3 separate regions of the Homo sapiens genome follow, and all the other regions are linked to region 1. Evidence: promoter capture Hi-C in 16 types of primary human blood cells and fetal thymus (Javierre and others, 2016). All regions are on one chromosome and are shown on one strand. The core of a region is centred on a gene start or on the middle of the fragment in contact, and the rest is flanking DNA. Distances in the headings are between cores, read along the strand shown. Region 1 holds the start of IGF1 (insulin like growth factor 1). Region 2 holds the start of DRAM1 (DNA damage regulated autophagy modulator 1). Region 3 overlaps DRAM1-AS1 (DRAM1 antisense RNA 1).

Region 1 (3,632 bases), core at 730-3,229:
AAAAAGATTTGTCACAAATCAAGTGTACAAAGAGAGCTTATTAAAGGAAGCCACGGATTATTATTAAATGCAGGGATTACTCACACATCTGCACATGTGGATAATCCCTGCATTAAGAATAATCCAGGGCCACCTACTAGGCCACCTCTTGATGATACCTCTTAGTGTGCTCTTTGGGTCAAATCCCACCCACTGAAATTTCCCAACATGGTACCCCAAAGCCTCTCATGACACAATCTGCCTCCCTCATTTTGGATTTTCCAAAAGATTTTACTCCCCTGTCTTCCCAGAGAATGTGTCACTCCCTCTCATTGTGCACTGTTCATGTTTTTAAAAGAGCACATGCCCATCATATGACTGTGAAGTTTTCCTCTTTGTCTCTGACATTCAGCTGAAAGCCCCTGAAGGGACTTGACCATATCTTATTCCTCTTTGTTTTCCTAGGGATGTTGTAGTTGGGCACATAGTAGAGCTCACAAAATGTTGCTGAACATAGTGCACCATTGACACAACATAATTCCAGATTTCTAACTTTGATTTCTGAAAGGTAAACATTGCTACAATGTATTAACCACACAGAAGACTCAAACAAACCCAACCCCCTTCCAAACAAAGCAGGTTTGTTTGTTTTTTGTTAGGGCACCCACTTCTACAAACAAATTTCTGGCCCCAGGATAACACAAAGAGCCAGAGTAGGATTTCAAGCAGAACTGTGTTTTCAGTTGATGTGTCAGTCCCCTGAGAGTCATGTGGAAAAAAAAAAAAAGAAAAAATTCAAGGTCCAGGTTATTTCCACCACTCCTGGGAAACCAGGCCTGGAGAGCTCTCTAGGGAAAGAGGTATGTCTGCTCTGGGCTTTTGCAACCTTATTTTATAATTCACTTTCTTATCTACTGCTTCACAAAACCAAAGGGAAATAGGTACAAACTGTATCGACAAAAGATCAGAACTGAATTCTCAATGGCAAAGGCAAGTGTACATTATAAATAGCAAAACAGCTGGCTTGGACCATGTTGCCGGCCAGTCACCCAGTTGAGGGATTTGAATGACATCATAACCCTCGAGAGGGTATTGCTAGCCAGCTGGTGTTATTTAGAATACACAAAAATCAGAGAAAGAAAACACACTCTGGCACACAGACTCCCTCTGTCATACACACACACACACACACACACACACACACACACACACACAGGTTTGAGTTATATGGAAAATTCAAACAACAGGAAAATTGTTTGCCCCCCAGGTACCCTTCTCCCAGAGTGGTGGGGTGGGGAGGGGACAGTGACAGGCAGCCTAGTAGAAGAATAAAGAAAAATGTTCTATTTCAGTTGGGTTTTACAGCTCGGCATAGTCTTTGCCTCATCGCAGGAGAAAAAGTATGAGACAGTGCCCTAAAGGGACCAATCCAATGCTGCCTGCCCCTCCATAGGTTCTAGGAAATGAGATCACACCTCTCACTTGGCAACTGGGACAAGGGGTCACCCGAGTGCTGTCTTCCAATCTACTTTACCCCAGTCACTTCAGGGTTAAAATTGTAGAGTTTGCTGGAGAGGGTCTTATCGTCCTTTCTTTCTTTTTTTGTTTTAAATAATGCATTTGCTCTAGAATCTAAAATTGCTCTCCCATCCCCCATATTCCTTTAATACTGGTAAGGTGTATTAGCAGACGTTTGTGTCTTCATGCCCAGCAGAAAGTTAATCAGAAAACAGATCCTTATTTTCTATGGCAGCATAAGTATTTTAATGTCTGCGAACCCTGTCACTAACACACATTCTTTTAAGGGAAAAAAATGCTTCTGTGCTCTAGTTTTAAAATGCAAAGGTATGATGTTATTTGTCACCATGCCCAAAAAAGTCCTTACTCAATAACTTTGCCAGAAGAGGGAGAGAGAGAGAAGGCAAATGTTCCCCCAGCTGTTTCCTGTCTACAGTGTCTGTGTTTTGTAGATAAATGTGAGGATTTTCTCTAAATCCCTCTTCTGTTTGCTAAATCTCACTGTCACTGCTAAATTCAGAGCAGATAGAGCCTGCGCAATGGAATAAAGTCCTCAAAATTGAAATGTGACATTGCTCTCAACATCTCCCATCTCTCTGGATTTCTTTTTGCTTCATTATTCCTGCTAACCAATTCATTTTCAGACTTTGTACTTCAGAAGCAATGGGAAAAATCAGCAGTCTTCCAACCCAATTATTTAAGTGCTGCTTTTGTGATTTCTTGAAGGTAAATATTTCTTACTCTTTGAAGTCATTGGGGAATTCTATTTAAATTGTGTACTGTTTGCTTCTGCCTAGAACTGTTCTTCACTTTAAAATTTTCATTGTTTCGGAACCGAGAGTTATTTATAAATTGCTGAATATGCAATTCTGTGGAATCTGAAAAATAGCTCGGGGAGATGGATGCATTTGCACAGATATCTGTATGAGTAGAAACTATTGCAAGGTACTTATGCTAAATCCTCCACTTCTGCAGGGCTTCCGTGGTGTCATTACAGAAGATTCCTTTAAATCCTCTCTATGGCTAAGGGCTATAGAGCATGGATATGAACTTGGGGATTTTTTTTTTCTTTTGCAGGTGCAGATGTTTTATTTTTAAGACCATGTTCTTTTGCATGTGTGTATGTGTCTCTGTGTGTATGTGTCTCTGTGTGTGTAACTCATCAGGACTTTATTTACAAGGCATGCTATATATGAAGGGTTGTATTTTAGATGATATTAAAGCTTTTAAATATGATCTTTGGAGCTAAGGTCCCGGAACTCTGCACTTATGCCCAGAGAGAGTGTTAAAGTTAGAGTAAAGTGTAATTTGTTCTTCCAAAAAAGAACTCCTTGACAACTCTTGCTGACCTTGCATATTTGTATAATTTAAACAAATACATACTGTATATGGAAAGCAGAAACTTTCTAAGAGCTGCTTGCCCAACTTTTCTGTTTAGAAGAGGACTTTCATGGGCAAAGTTTGGACTTGGGGTTCTGTGTTATAAAACTCTGATTTTATATTCAGTGTCGTGAAGTCCCTTTAGGTAAATCTGGCTGCTGCTGTCAGTGCACCGACTTCTCGTTTCCGATTGCTGGCCGTAGTTCTAGTTTCCATTCTCAGCAAAATTATATCCTTCAAGACTTGTGTTTTTTTTTCAATTTGCAAGCGCTTTTAAGCTGCTGTCACTGGCTCCACCGATTCAATTGCCTGAGGGCTCAATTCATAAGACGTCTCTGCCACTTAGTGCAGCATTCAGTTGCTGCTTTCAAACACTTCACCACTACGACTTTCCCTAGTCAAGTAAGTGGCTCCAGGAGTTAAAGATACACCCTTGTCAGGCACCTGATTCTGCTGTTCCTGAGATGCCAACACATGCAGGCCACCTTGCTTTCAAAGAAATGACGTCACTGTGCATACATACTATGTGATCTAGCAGCTGGAGTTTTTGTCTCCTTACTTAGGGGATCATAAAAGAGGCTGTGGAGCGTTATCTCTGCATTAATTACAAGTTAAGAAAATTGTTTCCAAATGCACTTTTCATGCTGTGTATGCTGAACACTTCAGAAGTGGAGCTCTTAATAAGTTGTTACTTTTTTCTGTACTTGAAGCAGGAAGTGGTTTGAGGGAGCTGCGTGGTCTTTCACATGTAATTC
Region 2 (3,632 bases), core at 559-3,058, 600 kb after region 1:
CTCCTTTCATAGGCAAAAACCACCATCATTACTGCAAATTTGCACTATTCTACCTATTGCTGTATTCCCTGCATCTTGTAAATGCTGGTTCCCTGGGAACACTGGCTCACACCTGTAATCCTAGCATTTTGGGAGGCCAAGGCAAGAGGATCACTTGAGGTCAGGAATTTGAGACCAGCCTGACCAACATAGTGAAACCCTGTCTCTACTAAAAATACAAAAAAATTAAGCCAGGTGTGGTGGTGCACGCCTGTAATCTCAGCTACTTGGGAGGCTGAGGCAGGAGAATCGCTTGAACCCGGGAGGCAGAGGTTGCGGTGAGCCGAGATTGTGTCACTGCACTCCAGCCTGGGCGACAGAACAAGACTCTGTCTCAAAAAAATAAAAAAAATTTTAAAAAATGCTAGTCCCCTCTTGCTCGATCTTTGTTTCCCCTTTCTCCACACTCCTCACCCCCACCCCCAAAAAAAGGAAAAAAACAAACAAACAAACAAAAAAACACAGAACATTGCTCACCAGACAGAATGGCTGCAGGGAAGAAGACGCCCTACATTTTCTATCATAGCAGTAACAAACCTTGGGTGTCACCAACCTTATCATCCGTTCACCAACCAATGCCTGTCCAGAGGGGTCACACTACTTAGATAAGGATGGATGGTTCTAACGTTTAAAGAATCCTGCCACTATGAGAAAGGCACTGAGCTGGAACCCACATAGGAGGATCAGACCACTGTCCCTGGCACTGAAGTGCCCCTCAGGAAGGTAGAGGCCAAAGCACAGGAAAAGTGAATGGGTAAAATAACACAAAAGATGTCACAAGTTGTTGACAAGTTGAGGACTTTGGGGTCACAGTGCCCAGAGGTGTCTGGTGCAGCTCCAGAGAATTTAAGCCAGACTCCCAGAGACCTGGGGGCAGCACAGTGTTGCTTTCTGCATGGCCGGGTGTGAATTCTGCTCCTACCATTAACTAGTGTGACATCAGTGTCACGTTGATGATATTTCATCAACTTTACACCACCGCTCGCTTGCGGGAATAATAAGCCCAAACATCCACTTCAAGGGATGTTGGGATGCAGAAGTGAAAATAGTGGCTGTTTAGCATATACCTGGATCTACCTCTTGTATAATATATGTCATCTATCAGAACCCATCTTGTTTCAATATCGCCTAAGAACGTCCTGCTGAGATTCTGTCCCATACCCAGAATGAAAGCTCTACCATCTATCCTGAACCTCTCCTTGCTGCCACCCTGTTCCATGCTCCGGGTACAGGCAGAAGTGCTCAGCGCCGCACCCGCTGCCTCCCTAAACATCCCAGGCTATCGGGAGCACCTCTCCTCCTGCTCCCACCTCTGCCTGACCACACGACGCCCCAAGCTGGGTCCGGACGCCTTCCCTCCCCGTCGGCAGCGCTCCCTGTGGTCCCTGTGCCTGCTCCTGGGGCCCTGACGCCCACCCTGCCACTCACCTGATATACGGGAGGAAGGGGTTGACGTGCCCGGAGAGCACGGCGACCACGTAGGAGATAATGAAGGCGGCTGACGACCAGGTCACCAAGAGGAAGGGGACGAAAGCCATTCCCCTCAGGAAGCACAGCATCGCGCCGCCGCCGCCGCCGACGGAGTGCTGCGCCCAGCGGGGCCGGGCGCCGGGTTGCTCCGGGCTGCCTGGAGGCGGCGGCCGGGCGCGTACACTCACGGACGGTGGGAGGGGAGGCTCCGCGACGGCCGGGGCAGGCCCAGCCCCGGAGGGAGGGGAAGCGCGAGGAGCGGAGCGAGGCTGCGGGCGGCGAGGCTGCCGGGCCAGAGTGGGTGGGGCGCGGGCTGCCCGGGCTTGTTGCGAAACGAGTGAAGTCACAAAGCGGCCCGGCAGGGTCGGAGGCGCCCGGCGAGCTCCAAGCGGACGCGACTACGGAGCCGCCGGAGGGGACGCGGGGTCGGGTTCCTTTCGCTTTTGGTTTGGACACTCGGCGGAGGCCGGGTTGGGCGCGGACGGGCGGCGTGGGGTCACTGGCGGGGACGCCCGCTCTGGCCTTCCCACTCTGGCCCTACCGCGCTGGCTCTTGCGCAACTCTGGAGAAAAGGATTTATTTCTCCCAACCCCTCCCTCCCGGGGGATTTCCGGAGTGCCGGGCCTCGCACCCCGAGGGCGCCCCCTCCGAGGTCCCGCCGCCGGCGCTTCGCAGCAGTGAGAGTGGCCACCGCGTGGTGACACCCATGCCATCCGGTCGCGCTGCTGCTGCGGGGGTCGGGCAGAAGTGTTCAATGAGGTTCGCCAGGTCACGGGGCGCAGATGTGGCTCCCACCTCAATGGTGAACACCCGAAAACCCAGACAGGGTGGGAACGGGTGGGGTGGAGAGTACGCGGGTGGGGTGCGGGGCAGGCGGGTGGGACTGCGCGCCCACGGAGCCGGGAGGCCCATTGTGCTGCTTTCCAGGAGAGCGCAACTGGAGAATATTTCCTGGAAATAAGATTTCCCAGGCCGGGCGCCGTGAATAGCCATCACTTTGGGAGGCATCCAAAAGCCATCACCCCTGGAATGCCACCACTTTGGGAGGCCGAGTTGGGAGGATCGCTTGAACCCAAGAACTAGAGATCAGCCTGGGTAACATAGCGAAACCCCTCTTCTACAAAAAAAAAAAAAAAAAATGAAAAAGAAAAAAAGCCGGTTCCAGTTACTCGGGAGACTGAGTTGGGATGATCACTTGAGCCTTGGGGGTCGAGGCTGCAGTGAGCCTTTATCACACCACTTCACTCGGCCTGGGTGACAGAGCAAGACCTTGTCTCAAAAAACAAACAAACAAAAAAAAAACAAAAAAAACTCCCCTCCAGGTTCTGGAGTAGCCCAGACTCGGAGCCTTGGCCTAAGATGATTAATAGTGACTTGATACATTTCAAGCCCTGTGAAAGGGATTTGTGTTCTGGAGGCACTTATAATATAAGCACATGATTTTGATAGTTTAGGGAGTCTGAGCCCAACATATGTGGCCAAAATTGTTGGGTCATTGGTGACCAAAGATAGGTTCCTTTCAGCCACAAACACATTTCATGGGCGCCATGCTAGGCTACAAAGATGAAATAGTAATAGTACCCTCAGGACGAGGACACTCATAGATCAAAATAACAAAATTAGGCCAGGCGTGGTGGCTCATGCCTGTAATCCTAGCACTTTGGGAGGCCAAGGTGGGTGGATCACCTGAGGTCAGGAGTTCGAGACCAGCCTGGCCAACATGGTGAAACCCCATCTCTACTAAAAATACAAAAAATTAGTCAGGCATCATGGCTCACGCCTGTAATCCCAGCTACTCAGGAGGCTGAGGCAGGAGAATCGCTTGAACCTGGGAAATGGAGGTTTTCTCAGTGAGCTGAGATCACACCACTGCATTTCAGCCTGGGTGAGAGAACGAGACTCTGTCTCAAAAATATAAATAAATAAAAACAAAATTATGTTATGTGGTTTATTAAATGGAAAGGAGAGGATTTTAAAAAGTAGAGACATGCCCAGAGCTGAGGGCCAGGGGCCTGGGCTCAGAGGAAGGACCACGGAGGTTTTCTGACAGATGACATCAGAGTTTTCAAAAGGAAGTAATTACTAACCAGGCAAAGAAAAATAAGATTAGCATTCCAGGCCCA
Region 3 (3,632 bases), core at 381-2,880, 520 kb after region 1:
ATGAACTCCCAGCCTCCATGACATAAGAAGACATTTCAGAGAAACTTTATAAATAGAGAAACTCATTCGTTATTTTTTCGAAAGACCAAGGAAAGAAAATGCAATGACCAAGGAAATTGTTGGTGGGTCATTGGCTGGGACACTGACATTCGAACATTGAACAATTAATTTGAGGATAATATAAACAGGTTTCATTACACCGATTTTAAGAATATGATATGAATAGTCTGTTGTTTTGAATTCTAGAATGTCCCTCCCCCTACCACACACCGTCTCCCTTCCTACTGGCCCCCTTACTATGAGCTGGCACTTCTCACTACTCTCTCTCCTGCTGGTTGTTTTCTTCATCCATGTCTGCTGTTAGAGTACAAATGAACTCAGTCTGCGACTGGCTTCCTGTGGTTGCCTTGCCTACATTTATTCTGGTTTTCTATTGTGTTCCTGACACATTTTTAAGAGTTCCATTATGTTGGAGCTTTTTTTTTCCTACTCTCTTCAGAAAAAACAAATGACTTTTCAAAAGGAACATCTTTTAAAAAATGTTTTTGTTTAAAGAAATAAGGTTCCCTTTAGTTCTTTGTGCTCTTTCACAATTACAGCCATGTAATCCATAAGGAATCCATTAATGTGTAAGAGGCTTTGAAGCTATCACGTGTGTGTGTGCGCGTGTGTGTATGTGTATGCATGCGCACGCGCTGTTTTTTCTTTTTCTCTTTCTTTCAGAATATTGCTGCTGCCAACCACTGATTTAGGAATGTTTAGAGGTATATGCCAACTCAATAATCAAAATCATTTTGGTACTGGGAACCCAACCACAGTCTCTGTAGACCAGTGGAATTTATTGCTTGCTCCAGTTTATTAAGTAAGAGTACCAACAGCATTTTGAATAAAAAAGAGTCTGATAAGATGTGATAGAATGTCAGGATAATTCATTTTCATCATAAAACAATGCTTGTTTTGAATCTGAAATGTTAAAAGCACAAACAGCCTGATGATCACGTTTTCCATCCCTTGACCTGGTATGGGAATATGATTCATAACTGTCTTCAGGAAAGAAGCTCAGTATAAACTGATGGTTTTCTGCTACACACACATCCCTGTTTTTATTCCACAAATACATATCTAATACCTATTGGGAACAAAGCACCGTACTCGGCATTGGGACCACAGTGGTGAAGAGAATAAACACAATTCCTGCCACATGGCACTCACAGAGGGAAGCTATCTTGGCCGCATCAATTACTTAAGACATTTGAGACGCACACAGAGTAATGCTGAGGCTTGTGGACTCTGGAGTCCAATGTAACTGTGTTCTGTTCCAGGCTAGACCACTCCAAGCTATTTTATTTTGAACAATTTTGCAGCCTTGCTCAGCTTCAGATTCCTAAATTGCGGTACTTACTTCATAAGGTTATTTCTAGGATTAAGTGGAAAAATGCTTGTACAGCTTTTAGCAAAGTGCCTCGTTAGCCAGTAATAGTAGTAGCACTAGTAATAGTAATAGTATGAGATGGGCCATATCTGGGGTCCCCAAGCCCCAGGTCACGGACCAGTACTGGTCCGTGGCCTGTTAGGAACTGTGCCACACAGCAGAAGGTGAGTGGCAGGTGAGTGACAGAGGCTTCATCTGTGTTTGTAGCCACTCTCCATCACTCACATTACCGCCTGAGCTCTGCCTCCTGTCAGACTAGCAGCAGCATTACATTCTCATAGGACCGCAAACCCTATTGCAAACTGTACGTGTGAGGGTTCTAGGTTGCGAACTCCTTATGAGAATCTAATGCTTGATGATCTGTCACTGTCTCCCATCAGCCCCAGAGGTGACCATCTAGTTGTAGGAAAACAAGCTCAGGGCTCCAACTGATTCTACATTATGGTAAGTTGTATAATTATTTCATTATATATTGCAATGTAATAATAATGGAAATAAAGTGCACAATAAATATAACGTGCTTGAATCATCCTGAAATCACCCCTCCCCCCACATTGGTCCATGGAAAAATTGTCTTCCATGAAACTGGGCCCTGGGCGCCAAAATGCTTGGGGACCACTGGGCCATATGAACCTTCAGTAGAACAGGCTCTTTCCTTATCCTTGGTATTTCAAGTTATTAGGTCCACCTGTTACCATGAGGTCACAGATCCATCCTACCCTGGGATTCTGTTCCATTTGAGGGAGAGATAAAAAAAGGCTTGCCCAATGCCCAGAAACACATTTTCTGCCTTCTCTTGCAGTGCCTCTTCTTGCCCATGGAAGGACATGCAGCTTCTTACTCCTCTGCTGCCCAACACAGTTTACTGGCTGGCCACTCCATGGCTAGGATCCTTCACACTACCTGAGACCTGATGTCTCTGGCTCCAAAGGACGCAGCTCTGCTCATCCCCCAGTGAGGCCTGTCATGAGTTGCTGTGGCTGTGGAAGCCTGCCATCCTGGGATGGAGACTTTTCCCACCACCCTGTCCCTTTAATTTCAGCAGGCACATCATCCCGCCTCATGTGGATCCCCAGAGCAGCAGATCTGGAATCTCCTGTGATGCTGAGGCCTTCAGGGACCACAGGAAACCCATCTTAATGATGAATCCTGGACTTTCTTTGCCCTTGGAACAGTCCTGGTTTCACACATTTACCTCCAAAAGAGCACTTAACAGCTGCCACGTGGCTGCCCTGAGGTTTGGGCTGAAACAACATGACCGTCATACCTTCCCAGAGTCCTCCCAAGAATGGTCTCTAGGTTCTCCTTCGCACAGTGGGGTACGATGGGCTACTCTGCCCAATCTGTGTACTCTCCTTGGGCTACTCTGCCCAAACTGTGATTTGGGGCATATAGCTATGCCTTCTCTGGTTCCTCTGTACCAAGGTCTCTCCAGTGGCTACCTCTTCTACTCAGCAGGACAGAGAAGCTCTCTTGGTTTTTATTCTTAGGATCCAGGTTCAGAAAACAAATAAACAAACAAACAAACAAAAAACCTCATGGTAGCTAATCTGCCCCCTCCCTTCTCTATGAAATGGGCAGGCAGAGAAAATCCCCCTGGCCCTGCCTAGCCCATCCATTCCTAAGGGACCTTCCCATAGCCAGATTGCAAGAGGAGAGCAAATTTAAATGAAATAAATATGAATTTCCTCCTAACAATAATAGTTCCATTCATTCAACACTTACTGAGTTCCCAATTACCTACTCAGTGCTAGAGGACAGATAAATCCCAGCAGCCTTCCTGGTAGTTTAGCAAGAAGCTGGCTGAGCAGGTCTGTGTTAGTTCAAAGGAAAAGCAGGCTGATGCCTGAGGCTAAATTCTAAAAGGTCTCTCTTCTAACAAGGCTGCTTCTTCAACCAAGAAGTTCCCAATATCTGCAGTGTGCTAGATGTCCTCTGCCATCATTTCCCCAAAATACATAGAGCAGTAAGGGGCAGGGTCCTTTCCCAGGAGCCACTCCCGGGAAGCTAGCATCCAGCTCTGGCTGATCAAGCACACAGTTTTTGTCAATGATTACAGCCAGGGTACTATGCATTCTGCTGCCACTCCACATCGAAGCATCCCCAGTAAGCCATATTTCACTCTCTGCTACATGTCACTTGTCAGGTGTGTATCTGTGCCACCTTGGCAGGACAACATCAGACCCCAGCAGATTAGCCA

Evidence for each region. Contacts are between HindIII fragments. The CHiCAGO score rates a contact against its expected background, and 5 or more counts as called.
Region 2: the fragment with the promoter of DRAM1 here is called in contact with the fragment with the promoter of IGF1 in region 1 in 2 of 17 cell types (naive CD8 T cells and total B cells); the score reaches 6.7 in naive CD8 T cells.
Region 3: a fragment that was not itself captured here is called in contact with the fragment with the promoter of IGF1 in region 1 in 8 of 17 cell types (naive CD4 T cells, fetal thymus, total CD4 T cells and 5 more); the score reaches 14.4 in naive CD4 T cells.

Annotation. Positions count from the first base shown.
Region 1 is chr12:102,478,910-102,482,541 of GRCh38, reverse strand. IGF1 (insulin like growth factor 1) reads left to right here and starts at 1,979. Exons shown (of 4, transcript NM_000618.5): 1 at 1,979-2,223. The coding sequence starts at 2,161. It overlaps LINC02456 (long intergenic non-protein coding RNA 2456), which reads right to left. Exons shown (of 13, transcript XR_007063427.1): 11 at 1-3,632. RefSeq lists enhancers at 3,124-3,173, 3,264-3,523. The HindIII fragment of the contact is 6,669 bases long and covers 1-2,722 here.
Region 2 is chr12:101,875,756-101,879,387 of GRCh38, reverse strand. It overlaps DRAM1 (DNA damage regulated autophagy modulator 1), which reads right to left and starts at 1,808. Exons shown (of 7, transcript NM_018370.3): 1 at 1,468-1,808. The coding sequence starts at 1,598. RefSeq lists enhancers at 922-971, 1,112-1,201, 840-1,621, 1,782-1,831, 1,622-2,404 and silencers at 1,422-1,761, 2,012-2,171. The HindIII fragment of the contact is 18,310 bases long and covers 1-3,632 here.
Region 3 is chr12:101,954,493-101,958,124 of GRCh38, reverse strand. It overlaps DRAM1-AS1 (DRAM1 antisense RNA 1), which reads left to right. Exons shown (of 3, transcript XR_001749284.2): 3 at 2,235-2,689. Among named protein-coding and RNA genes, the nearest start is that of DRAM1-AS1, 7.9 kb to the left of the region's middle. The HindIII fragment of the contact is 7,048 bases long and covers 1-3,632 here.